2 separate regions of the Homo sapiens genome follow, and region 2 is linked to region 1. Evidence: promoter capture Hi-C in 16 types of primary human blood cells and fetal thymus (Javierre and others, 2016). All regions are on one chromosome and are shown on one strand. The core of a region is centred on a gene start or on the middle of the fragment in contact, and the rest is flanking DNA. Distances in the headings are between cores, read along the strand shown. Region 1 holds the start of SNX25 (sorting nexin 25). Region 2 holds the start of LOC105377584 (a long non-coding RNA gene).

Evidence for each region. Contacts are between HindIII fragments. The CHiCAGO score rates a contact against its expected background, and 5 or more counts as called.
Region 2: a fragment that was not itself captured here is called in contact with the fragment with the promoter of SNX25 in region 1 in 1 of 17 cell types (activated CD4 T cells); the score reaches 5.4 in activated CD4 T cells.

Annotation. Positions count from the first base shown.
Region 1 is chr4:185,208,267-185,210,971 of GRCh38, forward strand. SNX25 (sorting nexin 25) reads left to right here and starts at 1,332. Exons shown (of 19, transcript NM_001378034.2): 1 at 1,332-1,989. The coding sequence starts at 1,561. It also overlaps a transcript of CFAP97 not described here. RefSeq lists silencers at 1,031-1,610, 1,721-1,880, 1,951-2,140. The HindIII fragment of the contact is 7,757 bases long and covers 1-2,705 here.
Region 2 is chr4:184,264,565-184,267,264 of GRCh38, forward strand. LOC105377582 (a long non-coding RNA gene) reads right to left here. Exons shown (of 6, transcript XR_939552.3): 5 at 434-520. LOC105377584 (a long non-coding RNA gene) reads left to right here and starts at 1,082. Exons shown (of 2, transcript XR_007058414.1): 1 at 1,082-1,226. RefSeq lists enhancers at 11-80, 1,259-1,338. The HindIII fragment of the contact is 2,775 bases long and covers 1-2,700 here.

The sequences.
Region 1 (2,705 bases), core at 82-2,581:
CAGCCTCCGAAAGTGTAGGGATTACAGGCGTGAGCCACCGTGCCCGCCCCTATTTTCTTAAAAAAGGAGGAGAAAGGAAACTGGTAACTTATTTTGATCATCCCCTTGGCATGGCAAAGTCACATCTAGCATGAGGCACTCTTCATTTCTGACTTAGAAGGTTTAAGAAAGAATGAAATGAGGCCGGGCGCGGTGGCTTACACCTATAATCCCAGCACTTTGGGAGGCTGAGGCAGGCGGATCACGAGGTCAGGAGATTGAGACCATCCTGGCTAATATGGTGAAACCCCGTCTCTACTAAAAATACAAAAATTTGCTAGGTGTGGTGGTGCGTGCCTGTAATCCCAGCTACTCGGGAGGCTGAGCCAGGAGAATGGCTTGAACCCAGGAAGCAGAGATTGCAGTGAGCCGAGATCGCCCCACTGCACTCCAGCCTGGGCAACAGAGACTCCGTCTCAAAAAAAAAGAAAAAAAGAAAGAAAGAAAGAATGAAATGCCCATGAATACCAATTGATACTAAAAGCAAAAGCTACATCTGCTTCTTTATTAGTCTTAGCAGTAATTGCCAGTGTTTAAGTAGCATATTGGCATCTACTTAGCAAGCGTTATCTGTATATTACTGGCTGGGACTATGACAGAAGAAAAGGCAAATATATACTCTAAAAATTATTTGGACCACGTTCCTTTGCGTGGCTGATAGCATTTGAACTGAATAGTTGGTAAAAAACAAAAAACAAAACAAAACAAAACAAAAACCAGAAGTGGAGCCAAAGTGATTATGGGCAGCTGCGTGCACCCTGTTGCACCAGGCCGACTTCTTTGGACCTTTCCATAGCTAGGAATTGCAGGCTTCACTTACTCCACCGCACGTGTCTGATTCCTTCCCTAAGGCGGCAGGGTGGGAAAGGGAAGGTCGTTAGAAACTGTGACAGGGAGTCTCGGGAACGGTTGCCTATTTAAATAGCGAGTGAAAACCAGGCAGAAATGTTTGCCGGCTGTAAGCAAAGCGAAGAGGTTACTCGTCAGTGATGAGCGGAGAGGGAGAATTACGGGATCACCTGAGCTCAGGAATTACCAGCGCCGCTGACACCTGCAGCAAAATTTTCCATGAACAGACGGCATCCTGTAGAGGAGGAGGGGAGCGTGGGAAAGAGAGGTGTGCACCGCGCTGGGTCGCGCCCTCTCCCCGTGGGGCCCCGGCCCGGACCCCGCCCCCGCGCTGTGGGTGGGCGCCTCCCGGCTGTCACTCAGCGGCCGCGGTGGCTCCGGGCCCCGCCCGACACGCACTTCAGGGCGGCCCCGCCCCGCCCGCGTCAGGCTGGCCAGGCTTCAGTCACAACACGGTGGGGCTCCCTGGCTGCGCCCGGCCCGGCAGCTACGGGCCCAGCGCCTGGTGGCGGCGCTGAGGGGTCGCCGAGAGGGGCCCGGCGGCGTCTGCGGGGGCCGCTCCCTCGGTGGGCCGCGGGCGAGGCATGAGCGCGGGCTCCCCCTGCCTCCGGAGCGCCGGCGGGGGACCGGGGGGCAGGAGATGTGCCTGTCCTTAGCGGCCCAGGAAGCAGCATGCACCCCGATGCGACCGACAGTGGCGGCGCCGGCCCCAGCCCCGCGCGGGCCGCAGGCGCCGGCGGCCGTCCTGTCTCGGGCTTCAGGGGCGAGCGGCGGCCGGAGTCCCCGGGGGACGCGGAGGCAGCAGCAGCGGCGGCGCCGGGGGCCCCGGGCGGCCGGAGCTGGTGGAAGCCCGTGGCGGTGGCCGCACTCGCCGCCGTGGCCCTCTCCTTCCTGGGGCCCGGCAGCGGGGAGGCGGCGGGGGCCGCGGGGCTGAGCTCCGTCCTGTTCAGGCTCAGCCTGTACCTGAGCTGCGCGGCGGCCGCCTTCCTGCTGGGGATCCTGTTTGCCCTCGTCTGCCGGAGCCCGCGCGCCCAGCCGCCCGACTTCGCCGCCGCCTGGAGCCGGCTGGCCGCGACCTCAGCCGCCCGCCGCCCGCCGGGGGTAAGTACCCGACTCCTGGCCGCCCAGCTCCGCCGGCCCTCCCCGCTTCCGGTGCCAGCTCCCGCGCCCCGAGCTCCGGGGGGCCGCGGCATGCCCTTGTCGAAGCGGGAAGCCGGGAGCCAGGGGGCTGGGCTGCGGGCCCGGCCGTGGACGCGAGCGTTCCCCGGCGCCCGCGCGCGGCGGGCTCCGGGCTCCGGGCTCCGCGCTCCGCGGTGCTGGAGGAGATGCGCGTTATTTACTGGGCTCTGTAGTCACTCGACAACCATCCTCAGTCACAACCCTAAGGGTGTCCCCAGACCTTCGGTGTCGCTTGCCGTGGGAGGGGAAGAAGGGAATCACAGCGTTCGCTACGTGCAGGCTCTGCGCACGGTCCTGGCGATCCGCTTGGTTCTTCTGGCCGTTCTCGGTGGGAGGCAACTTTATGACCGTTTGCCGATGAGGAAACTTGCTTCGGTCCCTGGCCCAGCGCCTCACCCCCAAGCCCGCGTACCCTTCCCACCACCCTATCCTGCCTTCCACCATGCGGATACGTATTATAGTTGTGCAGTCCCCGCTGGCTTCTGTGATTTGGAAGGGGGATGCCAGAAATCACTGGTTTGCAACAAAAGGAAAGCCATCCTCAGCGCGCTGTGGGACACTAGGGCGGGGGTTAGGGAATGTAGGAAAGAACAGTGTTTTAAATGAGCGCTTCTCTTCTTCAGTGCCAAACCCACTGC
Region 2 (2,700 bases), core at 91-2,590, 940 kb before region 1:
TACAATGGAGAAATACATACATGTGTGACATATATATACATATGATAATACATCATGTATATATGTATGTATACTTAAAACAAAAACACAAGTTAAAAAATGTGTATTATCAGCAACAGAATTTTAAATATATTTTAAACATATACAGTACATATTTAATATACACCATATAAATAGAATATAAAACATTTTTAATGTTTTAATATAAAATTATATATAGTACATATTTAAATATTTTTAGGTATATAAAATACATATTTATTGTATTTATATAGCATTGTTTACATTATATATTTAAAATTCTTTCTGTTGAGTGATAAACACATGCTTGAAAGCTCAAATTATATTTAAAACACCTATTAAATATATTATTATATTTATATGTACAGTAATATAATAAATGTATTTTATATATAATAATGATTTAAAGTACTTGTTTAAAATTCTCTATTGCTGAGTGATAAACACATGCTTCGTAACTTCTCTGGTTCTGTTTTATTCATTATAATCCTCAAAAACCCTGAAAGAAACAGAATAACCTTTTTATTGACCCACTCAAGTTATTTAATTTTTATGTTTCCCTAGCCCATATCTGTTCACGTATAGCTGAAAATAAAAAAGAAACGGTGGATTGAAATTGAAGGGAAATAGACAATAGTTATTGTTCCTAGCTTAATTGGGAGAGAAAGCCAGAGTAAAATAAGAGTCTATTGCAGCTAAGAGGAAGAAGTTCTTTAGTCTCAACCAAATATGTAAATATAACATCTCTCTTCTAATATTTTTAGTGCTAATTCCTAGTATAGAGCTGATTAAGGGTGGGGGAAGCACATATTTAATGGCCATTATTATGCTATTCTGAGGAAAATTCTCTCAGTGTCTAATATTTTAAAAATGGGTTTTAATTAGATCTTATCAGCAACCCTAAAATGCAACTTTTCTCACCCTCCAGAAAACAAAACAAAACAAAACAAAACTCACACCATCCCCAAAACTAGGCTTGATGAATAACCACATGGAAAATATGGAAAGATGTTTCATTAACCACACGGCAGATGGAACTAGGTGGGAGGAAAACCTACCACAGCTTCTCTTAATGGCATATTCAGGCTTTACTTCAGAAAAGGGAAGCATCTAAAAAAGATTGGAAGAATTTCTCACCACTCTGCAGGCAGCTGTCTCCTCCCAGCACCCAGGACCTGAACTCAGAAACTACCAGCAACACAGACGTGAGTCATTCTTGCTGCTATGCAGTTACCCTTAGTGCTGTCCACCCCTCGTCCCATCCCTCTTTTAATCTATATTCATTCAGAGAAAGGAGCTTAAAAAGCAAGCAAAGAAAAATCACCTGTGCGGAAAGTAGAAGAAACTGCTGCTGGCTCATCGCATTTTAGGAAAAACAATGCGCACGAGTAAAGCAGTCTTAGTAAGAGAAGAGTAGGAAAGAAACACGCTTAGCAGCATGTTAGAAACTAGTTTCTCGTGCCCTCCTTGGACTCAGAATACAATACCAGAGAACAATCAGATAAGGCAGGAAAAGTTAGAAGTTTGGGGAAATAGAGCTTCCGTAGGCAACTGTGAGGAATCAGGAACAGGCTGGGAGCAGGCACTGCCCACCTGTCCTACCCCGAGAGCACCAGGATAGGACTCCACACAGGAGGACCGGACCTCGATGATGAGCTCACCCTCGCTCTTAACAAGCACTGGCTCTCTACAGATGTCACTTCCTTTAAGGATGAGTAAATAAGGGAGGAAAAACTCTATGGGGCGGGGCGGGGTCTGGGAGGTAGTTTTTTGTAAAGCTACAGAAAATAGGAAAGAGACTTCATCTCAATGATTTAGAAGACTTTAGAAGACTCTAAAAATAATCTACAGGAGGACCCAAGAGATCCAACACGCTGGACTCCTCTATAGGATATCAAAAGGTATAACCTATATTAAACAAACAAAAAATCATAAGGAATAAGTAAAGATGAAAATTACTAATATGTGATGAACCAATGCTTTTAACAAATGTTTATTAAGAACCCATTATGAAGGCCTGGCCCAGTGGCTCACACCTGTAATCCCAGCACTTTGGGGGGCCAAGGCAGGTGGATCACTTGAGGTCAGGAGTTCGAGACCAGCCTGGCCAACATGGTGAAATGCCGTCTCTACTAAAAATATAAAAATTAGCTGGGCGCGGTGGCACATGCCTGTAGTCCCAGCTACTTGGGAGGCTGAACACAAGAATCACTTGAACCCAGGAGTTGGAGCTTGCAGTGAGCCGAGATCACACCACTGCACTCCAGCCTGGGCAACAGAGCGAGACTCTGTCTCAAAAAAAAAAAAAAAAGAGAACCCATTATGAGGCACGCACTGGGCTGGGCTGGAGAATCCAGACATGGGTAGAATGGACAAGATGCCACCTTTGAGGCAGCTTACACTTTGGTGAGGTTCACAGACAATGCACTAATAAATAATTCATAATGATAATTGCTAGTAATGAATCAAACCAGGGGCTGATTGGGGGCAGGTAGTACCTACTCAGATAAAATAGGCAGGAAAGGCTTCTGTAGTATTTCATCTGAGCCAGATATGGAAAGCAAGTCATGTATATTCCTGGCAGAGGAAGCAAATTGCTTTAAGGTGAGAAAGAGCTCCACATGCCTGAAGAACTGAAAAAAGACCCATGTGCCTGGTAAATGGCACAGCTGAATTTGG